Regions from separate parts of the Homo sapiens genome. Here regions 2, 3 and 4 are each linked to region 1. Evidence: promoter capture Hi-C in 16 types of primary human blood cells and fetal thymus (Javierre and others, 2016). All regions are on one chromosome and are shown on one strand. Each heading gives the region's core, a stretch centred on a gene start or on the middle of the fragment in contact. The rest is flanking DNA. Distances are from core to core; before and after follow the strand shown.

Region 1 (2,807 bases), core at 113-2,612:
CACAATGTTATACACTCCAGAATGTAGAAATGCATTAGATAAAGGCCTGTTTACAGTTTAATAGGGGGAAAGACTTGCAAGTAAATAATTTTAGTTCGAAGTTAGAAAGTGGTAATAACTAAATACATGAAATTCCAGAAATATGATGGACTCTCAATAGAAAGAAAAATTATTTCTAGGTAGAGATGTCACTTTCTAAAGCTTTAAATAATGGAAAGAATTTCAACATTTGGAGATGAGGGGGAGAGACAGGTATTTCATGCAAGGGACATGAGCAATCTATAAAAATGTAATAATTTATGCATGACGTACTTCACAGGGTCTGGTTTACCACTGACTGAGGGAGAATGGAAGGGGAACAGCAGAAAATAAAAAAAGTTTTGAATCCAAGTTAATAAACTTGACCTTTAATCTACAGGCAACAGAGAGCCATTGGATCAGCTATTTTGGATCACGGTGGTGCTTGAAGATGGCTACACCTATAGCAGGTATATGTAAGATAGGCTAGTAGCAGAGTGATGCTAGAGGCAGGACATCAATGAGAAAGGTACTGCACTGACACCGTGCAGGGGATGGTAATGAGAACGTTGATTAGGTGGGGGCAGTGGGTAAGAAGATGCAAGAATTACTGTAGGGGTACAATCGACAGGACTTGGCAAGTGATTGGAGCATGGAAAGGCAAGAAAGGGCATCAAATCTGACATCAAAGTTTCCAAGTTGGTTGTATTAACAAAAACGGGTGCATAGCCTGGGAAGTAATTTGGGAGGGAAGAGGCCAAGCTTTGTCGGGATATTAAGTGTTTATACATTTGCTGAACATCCCACAAGACATGGGCAAGACTCTTGGAAGTAGCTGGATACTGACGACTGAAGCTGGAGCAGAGAGGGGGTATGTTTCTGCAAAACCACATACAAAACGGACTACGGAAATCTTACTACCGAGGCTTGCCCAGGCAGGAGAGAAAGGTGTAGCATCCCTGAAGTCATCAGTCGTGTCTACTCTTCACCGCCTGCTCTCACCTCACGTTCCCCACGAAGACTCCGGGAGCAGGCGGCCGGAAGGAGCCCTTCCCTCCCTTCTCCGGTGATTCCCAGAACTTCCGTCTCTACCCGTCACCTGCTCCCAATCAAAGGAGCTTAATAGACGGCGACGTTTTCGACTGCCCAGCCACCAGGCAGGCTGAAAGTGCATGGAGGGCATCATCCACCTTTAGACAGCTACTTGCCCACACCTCATCGAGCTCTGGGCGTTGTGCCAGCATTTGAAGAAGCGATCTGTTGCAAAGCGATCCACACGGAGAGCCTTAGTTATCGCGAGACTTGACAGGCACCCTCAACTTTAGCCCGCCGGAAGCGGAAGTCAGGTGGTTGTCGGATTTTAGAGGAAGGCGCTCGGTTACATTGGAGAACTGGAGTGGTCTGGAGTTCCACGGTGTAGTGGACCAGAGGCCACCTCTCCTGGGCTTCTCAGTGTCTCGCCGGCGGGGTTCGGCCTGAGCTGGATTGACATAGCCCTTGGCGGGTGAGTCGCCCCGGACGCCCGGGAGGAGGGAGCGGGGCGGCCGAGCTGGGTGGCCAGCGAGGTGTCCTCCCCCTGTGCGGTGATCTGTACTCTTTGCTAGACCGAAGCCCGTTTACTTCTCACGGCCCATAATTTCCCTCACTTCTGGAGGTATAAGGTGCTTCGGAAGGGAGCAAATCTGCCAGAACCTTGGTAAGCAAGCTGTGATGTGCCTTGAGGACGGACTGGAAAACGCAGTTGTTTTCAGTCTGCATCTTCGTCTGTTCCCCGGGCTCACCTCCCAGGGCAGCGAAACCCCATTCTGGTTGGTTATTTCCAGGGTTAGTCGCCCGCAGCCAAAGTTCTTTGTGGTTTTATTTGTGGTGAATAAATTAGCAGTATTCAAGTACAAATCTGAAAGGCTTACCCTAAAAGAACATACATACTTTATGAAGTTTGTATTCATACTTGAACTATTTTGCTTTTGAAGGCCCAGAGGACAAATCTTGTAGCTTCTTGCTCTTGAGAACCAGTTCCCTCTTTGGAATATTAGCTTTGGAAGTCTTTAGAGCGTTTTTTTGGTTTGTTTTTTGTTTTTTTTTTGAGACGGAGTCTCGCTCTGTCGCCCAGGCTGGAGTGCAGTGGCGCGATCTCCGCCTCCCAAGTTCAAGCGATTCTCCTGCCTCAGCCTCCCGAGTAGCTGGGACTACAGGCACATGCCACCACGCCTGGCTAATTTTTTCTATTTTTAGGAGAGACGAGGTTTCACCGTGTTAGCCAGGCTGGTCTCGATCTCTTGACTTCGTGATCTGCCCGCCTCGGCCTCCCAAAGTGTTGGGATTACAGAGGTGAGCCACCGCGCCTGGCCTTAGAGCACTTTTACTCCAATTCTTTCCTTGAATAAGACTCTTATGCGCCACCCTCCCCTACAAACACCTTTTGAGAGTTTCCTTAAATAAAGTCAAGTTTGTTTTTTTCCTCCCACAGATTTAAACAACCTAAACATTAAGCAGTACAGCTGCCTCAAACCTTTGGGGTAAGTAAAGCTTGGGTCGATTAACATTCTATTTAAATTTCGTTCTCAGTAATAATACAGTTGATATTTGTTTACATGAGTATGGGTGGGGAGTCGTGGGAGAACATATGAGAACATAAAAATGGAGTAGCACCTTTTCCTTGCCTTATGATTTTTACTGCCCATCTGGATTAGGTATGGGTCATCTTTTTAGTGATTTCTGTGATCCCACTAGAATTCTAGACATGATTTTTAATTAGCTGAATTTATTTAAAACTCATTCCTTGGATT
Region 2 (2,807 bases), core at 146-2,645, 120 kb before region 1:
ATACGTTAAATAACATCTTATTAGGTATACATGTATTTTTAAGGTTTAAAATACTTAGCTTATGCCTGTAATCCCAGCTACCTGGGAGGCCAAGGCAGGAAGACTACTCGAGCCCAGGGGCAGCACAGCAAGACCCCGTCTCAAATAAATAAACTTTTGAGAGGGGGTAAATATTAAAACAAAATCTTATCTGGAGAAATTCAGATATTAAACTTAAATATATCACTGTACTATGCGGTATTCTGAAAAAGATAGTATATTAGAAACTTTCTAGACCATGGACAATTTCAGATGCTGAATTTCATAGGTCCTCAGAGATTAATCAAGTAATTAGCATACAAAATTAATGGTATCACTGAATCATATTAAAGATTATTTAGAAAGATTCAGGAAAGTTCCTGTCTACCTGAAATCGAATTCACATGCATTTCCATAGGTCCATGTGGGCATATTTTATATGATGAGGCCAGAACAAGGTATTGGAAAGACAACTCAAGGCAGACATAGGTTCTGCCTTTGTGAAACATCCTGAGCCACACCAAATCTCCTGTCCCAAGGGTCGGCCACAGCACTGACAAACCCAGGGTCCCTGTCAGCATTCTCTCCCCTCCTCTCTGAGCACCGACATATTGGGCATACTCCCTCCTGGGGCTCAGCGATGCTGGAATTTCTCCCTCCCTGTCATCTTTGCTGGCTCCCATTTCATAACTGGGCCTATTTCCTAGGGCTCCAGCATCTGCCCTCCTCTCTCCACTGCTTCTTTGTGCACCCGAGACTGCAGCTACTGCCCCTGTGAGGCTGATGGTCAAGTCTAGAGCATCGATCTTGACTGCTCAAGATGCCCAGGCCTCCTGGTTCTCTTCCTGCAACCTGTCCTCATTTGCAACCCCCTCCCCGGGCTTCCCTGGCCCAGCTATTCTCTCCTTCACAGCCCCCTCGACAATCTTTCTGCTCTCAGTCCCTCCCTGCCTGCCTTACCATCTGCAAGCAAGCCAACCCTCTCAGGTGAAATCCAAATCAACAGTCACAACACACTTCCAACGTCCACCAACTACTCAAGAATAATTAAACAAGTAGCTAATAAATAAAAAATTACCCAGTAATGAAGAATTCTAGGTCTTCACAGTATCTCCAAGCACATCTCAACGCCTCCGACAGCACACCTCAGCTGCCAGCAGGCAGACTCCTGGCTATCTTGCTAGTATATCACACTTACTCCTGCCCCTAAGTATTCTCTCCTGAAGTCTCCCTTTCCCTGGCTTTCTACATATAACCCTGTCACTAGGTCGACTTCCCCCACCACCACATATACTAATCTAGACATCAGGAAAGTGGGTGTGTTGATTTCAGATTAAAATAGGTCCTTTTCAGTCAATCTTCACACTTTAGACAGACTACTGAATTCCTGGCCAAGCCGGATCTCCTCTGTTAAGACAGAGCTGTTGGAATAACCACTTCCACCTGACCTCTGTTAAAACCGGAGATGAACACAAGGGCTGTCTGACATCAAGTCTCTCTCTTGTGGGCACAAGGTACCCTACACAGAAACTCACCTCCCAGCACAGCCAGGAGACATGCTGCCTCGCCTCTGGCATTTAAACACAGTGACCACAGAATGTCTCTCCTGGGCCAGGATGTGTATTAACTCAAATCACATCAACCATTTTCTGTCAGAAATACAGTACCACATCCTAAAAAATTCAAGAGTCTCATAAAAACATGTCACTGTGATCAGGCTAATAGTTGAAAAAGCCTTCAAAATGACCTATTGTCAAAATTCCCTATTTCTGGCCAGAAGTGACAAGGAACAAAGAGTCCCTATCACCAACCCCACTGGGATTTACTTCATAGACTAATGTCTTACTTGGGAATGATTACTTGAGGTCTCGATTTTCTCCTGCGTCTTGTCTTTGGCTATCTTGGCAGCTTCTTTCACCTCCTGGAATTTCTCTGCAAACTGAACATGAAGAATAGTTATTAAGGCTTTTATTAACCTCACTCATGGCTGGTATTCAGAACCCACCTTTATTTATTTTGCATCCATTTTAGGCCCATACATTCTGTATAAATCCAGAAGAATTTTATTTGCTATTAAATGAATATAAGGATGTATATTCCAGTAAACAGCACTGGGCAAGGTCAGTTCTGAACCCATATCTAAGCTACTGAAGCTAGTTTGATGATGATGTATTAAAAACAAACTAATACAAAAATGGCAAATGAAATTTGGCTATACCACAAAAGAAATCCACGGAAAACTTCATAATCCATACCGAAAAGATCCAAAACCTCTTAGTGTCATTTTTTTCTAGATGAATACTAAGTATTTAGGAGTGAAATGTCTTGATGCTTATAGTTTAAAGTACTTCAAAAACAATAAAAGAGATGAAGAAATGTGGTAAAATGTTAACAACTGTTAAATCTAGGTAATGTGTATATGGGTGTTCATTATACTATGCCCTCCACTTTTTATTAATATCTTAATAGTTCCATAATAAAACAGTTCTTCAAGTCCTGGGACAATCATATCACCCATTAGCTTATTGCCACTAACAAGGTGGCCAATTTTAATTAGCAAATTCATTGTTTGAACAGAGAATAGCCTGTGATAATGGTGGTATTACAAAGTAAGAGCTAAATATGGTTGCAGACAAAACAAAAACTAGCAAGTTGCAAGGCTATCACCAATTCTGCAGGTTTTATTGAGAACTCATTTATTTCTGAGCACAGGCTATCCTCTGAGTATCTTCACAATGCCGACAACAGTGGTCTACTTTAGGAAACCTTGCCAGATAACAGATGTAGGT
Region 3 (2,807 bases), core at 87-2,586, 88 kb after region 1:
AAGACATATGTGTTGTCCTACACTTTTTCATCTACAATGTTGTCAAGAAAATTAAAAATTATGAGGCATATTGAAAACATGAGAGAGAGGGAGAGAGAGAGAAGATAATGGAATCAGTTCTATAGGATTCAGGTATTGAATTTATCAGACAAGGACTTTAAAATAACTATGATTGCACTTTGGGAGTCTGAGGGCAGGTGGATCACCTGAGGTAGGGAGTTTGAGACCAGCCTGGCCGGTATGGTAAAACCTTATCTCTACTAAAAATACAAAAAATTAGCTGGGCGTGGTAGTGGGTGCCTATAATCCCAGCTATTTGGGAGACTGAGGTGGGAGAATCGCTTGAACCTGGGAGGCGGAGGTCGCAGTAAGCCAAGATTGCACCACTGCACTCCAGCCTGGGCCTGACAGAGCGAGATCCCATCTCAAAAAAAAAAAAAATAAAAATAATAATAATAATAATAATAATAAATAAAATAACTATAATTACTGTATGAAAAAAATAGAAAAAAGATGAAGAATTTTACCAGAGAATTGGAATCTGTGCAGAAGGGTCAAATGGAGATCCTTGACCTGAAAAAGTACTATAACAAATTAATAACTAATTTGTGTTTAATAGAAAATTAGATATAGCAGAACAGAGAATTAATGTAACTGGAAGACAAGCCTGTAGAAAATGTTTAAATTGAAACACAGAGAGAAAAAAGCATAGAAAATACAGAAAACAGGCCAGGCACAGCAGCTCACACCTGTAATCCCAGCACTTTAGGAGCCCAAGACAGGCAGATTGCTTAAGGCCAGGAGTTTGAGACCAGCCTGGGCAACATGGCAAAGCTCCACCTTTACAAAAAATACAAAAATTAGCTGGGCATAGTGGTGTCCAACTGTAATCCCAGATACTCAGCTGGCTGATGCAGGAGAATCACTTGAACCCTGGAGGTGGAGGCTGCAGTGAGCCATGATCATGCCACTGCACTCCAGCCTGGGCAACAGAATGAGATCCTGTCTCAATAAAATAAATAAATAAATAGGAAACAACATATGTCTGTTAATTCTGTTAATCATGAGACAAAGTGAAAAGGACTAACATATGTATAATGGAGTCATAGAAGGATGATAGAGAATGAGGCAGAAGAGCATTTGAAAAAAATACTGGCTGGAAAATTTCCATACTGATGAAATATATCAAACTACAAGGAAATGTAAGCCTTTGCTACTCTTGCATTCTGCATATCTGCAGACTTAACACCACGTGGATGCCACCAAGGCTTATGGCTTGCATCCTCTGGATAGGCAGCCTGAGCAGCACCCAGGGCTGGAATGTAGGAAGCAGAGTCCAAAGGTGGCTGCAGGGCAGCAGCACCCCAGGCCTGGCCCCCAAAACATTCTGTCCTCCTAGACCCCTGGCCTGTGATGGGAGAGACAGACTTGAAGATTTCTGAAATGCCTTCAGGGACTTTTTCCATTGTCTTGACTATTAGCACCTGCCTCCCTTTTTTTTTTTTTTTTTTTTTTTTTTTTTTTTTTTTTTTTTTTTTTTTTTGTTAAAGACTGTCTCGCTCTGTTGCCAGGCTGGAGTGCAGTGGCATGGTCTTGGCTCACTGCAACCTCCACCTCCTGGGTTCAGGTTATTCTCTTGCCTCAGCCTACCAAGTAGCTGGGATTATAGGCATGTGCCACCATGCCCAGCTAATTTTTGTATTTTTAGTAGAGACGGGGTTTCACCATGTTGGCCAGGCTGGTCTTGAACTCCTGACCTTGTGATCTGCCCACCTTGGCCTCCCAAAGTGCTGAGATTACAGGCGTGAGCCACCACGCCTGGCCCGAGCACCTGCCTCCCTTTTATCTGTGATAATCTCTCTAACAAGTGGTGGCTCAGCTGTGCTCTTGGATTCCTCACCTGAAAATGTTCTTTCCTTCTGTACCACATGGCCAGGCTGAGAATTTTCCAAAGTTTTACTCTCTGCTTCCCTTTTAAGTTCCAATTTTAGATCATGCCTTGACTCCTATATCTGCTCATAATCTGTTAAAAGTAGCCACACCATGTCTTGGATGCTTTGCTGCTTAGAAATTTCTTCTACCAGATACCCTAGGTCATCACTCTGAAGTTCAGCCTTCCACAAAGTCCTAGTGCATGGACACAATGCAGCCACGTTATTTGCTATAGTTTAACAAGGGTGACCTTTGCTCCAGTTCCCAATAAGTGCCTCATTTCCAACTGAGACCTCATCAGCCTGGCCTTCATTGTTCATGTTTCTATCAGCATTTTGCCCACAACCACTTAACCAGTCTCAAAGTTTCAAACTTTCCCTTGTCTTCCTGTCTTCTTCTGAGCCCTCCAAACTCTTCCAACATCTTCCCATTACTCAGTTTTAAAACCACTTCCACATTTTCAGGTATCTTCCTAGTAACCCCCGACCCTTGGTACAAATTTTCTGTCCTAGTCCATTTGTGATGCTATAAAGGAGTACCTGATGCTACATAATTTATAAAGAAAAGAGGTTTATTTGGCTCACAGTTTTGCAGGCTGCTTCTACTCATGGTGGAAGGCAAAGGGGGCAGCTGGCATGTACAGATCACATGGTGAGAGAAGAAGCAAGAGAGAGGGGAGGAGGTGCCAGGCTCTTTCAATAATCAGTTCTAATGAGAACTAAGAGTGAGAATTCACTTACTCCCATGAGAATAGCACCAAGACATTTATGTCGGACCTGCCCTGTGATCCAAACACTTCCCATCAGGCCTCACCTCCAACACTGGGGATCACATTTCAACACGAGATTTGGTGGGGCCAAACAAACCACATCCAA
Region 4 (2,807 bases), core at 198-2,697, 75 kb before region 1:
CCAAGGATGACTAAGGACAGAGCAGGTGACCAAGGATGACTAAGGTCAGAGCAGGTAATAGAGGCTAGGAGGGGGTCATTTACTGAAGCTAGGGGCAAGGAGGTGTAAAGAACAAGGAAGTTAAACTTTAAAATGGAGAACAAAGAACCAGAGAGCTGAACATACTGACATATTGGCTCTTTGAAGAGGAACTCAGAACTCATTGTACTTAACAACTTTTCCACTCTTGGATTTTAAAGGAAGTTAACAGGCTAAAACCTTTGAAGAGGAATTTTACTGTATCCTACAGTTACATATCATATTAAAAGCTAACTTGTTTCAGCTGGGTGCGGTGGCTCATGCCTGTAATCCCAACACTTTGGGAGGCCGGGACAGATAGATCACCCGAGGTCAGGAGTTTGAGACCAGCCTGGCCAACATGGTGAAACCCCGTCTCTACTAAAAATACAAATTAGCCAGGCATGGTGGTGTGTGCCTGTAATCTCAGCTACTCAGGAGGCTGAGGCAGGAGAATCGCTTGAACCTGGGAGGTAGAAGTTGCAGTAAGCTGAGATCATGCTACTGCACTCCAGCCTGGGTAACAGAGCAAGATTCTGTCTCAAAAAAAAAAAAAAAAAAAAAAAAAAAAGGCTAACTTGTTTCCCTACCTTTACTGAGAAAGGTAAAGAAAGTGACGGACATCTCAAATACACATTAAAAAGATGATACTGCCAGGTGAGGTGTCAAAGCCCCCACATTGTAAAGTGGTTGACTCGTGGGTTGGTAAGAATTTACTGACAACCATATAGGCTTGAAGAAGTTTTATTAGAAAGAAGGAACGCTGCCGAGGAGTCCAGTGGGGTGAGTCGGTGAGAGGACTGAGCACCTTATGGTGGATTTTTCCTTAGGGGTATTTATGGACCTTAAGGCAGGAGCTTGAGGGTAATTTGGACCATACTAGCCACGTAGGTCATGATAAATGATTACATCTGTAGTAATTCTGGTGCCTTAATGTCAGCAAGGGTTGCACAGTACGTTTTGGCATGGCATTCTGGAGATGTATAGAAATCCTAGTGACTTATAAATTTTGGGGGAAAGAAATCTGGAACCAGATGCCTGCTTTAGATAATAGGGAAGTGCAATTACTTCTAATTTCCCAGATAAGGAGTTTGCCTCGGAAGGCGTGTTTGATGGTCACCAGGTGGTCTTTGCTCCCTTCTAAATTCCTCAGATGGGAGTTTTTGTCTCCGGGGCCTGTTCAATGGTCACCAGGTGATTTTTGTTCTCCTCAGAAACATTCTTCATTTTGTCTCAGCAACGTAACAGTGCCTAGTTTCAAGTCTGGTTTCTGTCAGGGTCAAAGTTAAACAAGAGGAAGGCTGCTCCACACAACTTTTCCGTTTCTCTTCTTAAGGAGTAAGGGAGGAGGGTTCAGGGCTAAGTCCCTTCAGTCTGTGTGAGGTAGGGACATTAATATAACCACCTCAAGGGTTTGTTAAGATTAAATGTGATAACATGTGCAAAGTGCCTTTTTGCTATTAATAGCAGACTGTTAAAGGAATGTTATGTTGATTATAGGTGTAAGACGCCACTGCAGGGAAGAGAATCCCTTTGCCACCTTAGACAGCTCAACCCTCCCATAGAGAATCTAGCTCTCTCTCCCTATTACCATCAGCAAATTAAACAAAGAAATCTTCAAAAAGAATAACTGTGCTTTTATAACTTAAGAAAATTGTTCAAAGTTTAAAAACTTAGAAGTCTAGGACTTGTTTTTTTCCTTTACTTGCAAATTAGTTCTAGTTTTGGCAAACTGGTTTTATGGTTCCCAGGTACCTACCCTTTCAGGTTTCCAGGTAGCAGCAAGAAGTACCCTAGTACCACTTCTAGAAGCCAGTCGTTGTAAATGTACGGCTACCACTCTGAATTTAGGTTTAGGGGAAAAAAAGCTGTTTTTTTATTTTCCTAGGAATCACTTTAGTTTAAAATTAGATTGCATGGTGTAAAGAGCTGGTAACTTGCCAAGTCAATTACAAAAAGTGTAAAGCATAAAACCAAAGGTGCAGACATACCTCAAAAGAGTGTTTATATTTTCATTTACACTATCAGTTGGTCTCTCAGGCTAATGGCTATATGTGTGTGTTCCAATAAAACTTTATTTACAAGAACAGTTGGCAAGTATAGAGTTGCCAGATTTGGCAGATAAAAAGACAGGACTTTCAGCTAAATTTAAATTTCACGGCCGGGTGAGGTGGTTCACACCTGTAATTCCAGCACTTTGGGAGGCCGAGACAGGACCTCACCTGAGGTCAGGAGTTCGAGACCAGACTGGTCAACATGGTAAAACCCCCATCTCTACAAAAGTACAAAAATTAGCTAGGTGTGGTGGCAAGTACCTGTAATCCCAGCCACTTGGGAGGCTGAGGCAGGAGAATTGCTTGAACCCAGGAGGCGGAGGTTGCAGTGAGCCAAGATCGCACCACTGCACTCCAGCCTGGGCAACAGAGTGAAACTCTGTCCCAAAAAATAAATAAATGAATTTAAATTTCACATAAAAAATGAATAATTTTTAAAGTTATTTGTATTGAGATATAATGTGGACACCATAAAATCTACCTTTTTAAAGTCCCCAATTCAGTGGCTTTTTATTCACAGAATTGCGTAACCATCACCACTGCTTAATTTCAGGGCATTTTCAGAGCACCCCTCAAACCCCGTACTCATTAGCAATCATTCTCCTCTTCCCCCAGCCCCTAGCAACCACTAACTTACTTTCTGTCTCTCTGAATTTGCCTGTTTCAGGCATTTCATATAAATTGAATCATATAATA

Evidence for each region. The method cuts DNA at HindIII sites, captures the fragments that hold promoters and counts their contacts. A CHiCAGO score of 5 or more calls a contact.
Region 2: a contact is called between a fragment that was not itself captured here and the fragment with the promoter of RAMAC in region 1, in 8 of 17 cell types (megakaryocytes, M2 macrophages, M0 macrophages and 5 more). The highest score is 17.8, in megakaryocytes.
Region 3: a contact is called between a fragment that was not itself captured here and the fragment with the promoter of RAMAC in region 1, in 3 of 17 cell types (neutrophils, naive CD8 T cells and total CD8 T cells). The highest score is 6.2, in neutrophils.
Region 4: a fragment that was not itself captured here is called in contact with the fragment with the promoter of RAMAC in region 1 in 2 of 17 cell types (M2 macrophages and megakaryocytes); the score reaches 6.4 in M2 macrophages.

Annotation. Positions count from the first base shown.
Region 1 is chr15:82,984,848-82,987,654 of GRCh38, forward strand. RAMAC (RNA guanine-7 methyltransferase activating subunit) reads left to right here and starts at 1,363. Exons shown (of 4, transcript NM_031452.4): 1 at 1,363-1,522; 2 at 2,489-2,537. It also overlaps a transcript of HOMER2 not described here. The HindIII fragment of the contact is 1,767 bases long and covers 779-2,545 here.
Region 2 is chr15:82,862,303-82,865,109 of GRCh38, forward strand. It overlaps HOMER2 (homer scaffold protein 2), which reads right to left. Exons shown (of 9, transcript NM_004839.4): 4 at 1,865-1,957. Among named protein-coding and RNA genes, the nearest start is that of WHAMM, 54 kb to the left of the region's middle. The HindIII fragment of the contact is 3,796 bases long and covers 1-2,807 here.
Region 3 is chr15:83,072,481-83,075,287 of GRCh38, forward strand. No RefSeq gene overlaps it. Among named protein-coding and RNA genes, the nearest start is that of MIR4515, 6.5 kb to the left of the region's middle. The HindIII fragment of the contact is 7,362 bases long and covers 1-2,807 here.
Region 4 is chr15:82,909,533-82,912,339 of GRCh38, forward strand. The region is part of intron 1 of HOMER2 (homer scaffold protein 2); the gene reads right to left. All of the region lies in intron 2 of LOC105370928 (a long non-coding RNA gene), which reads left to right. Among named protein-coding and RNA genes, the nearest start is that of HOMER2, 42 kb to the right of the region's middle. The HindIII fragment of the contact is 5,351 bases long and covers 1-2,807 here.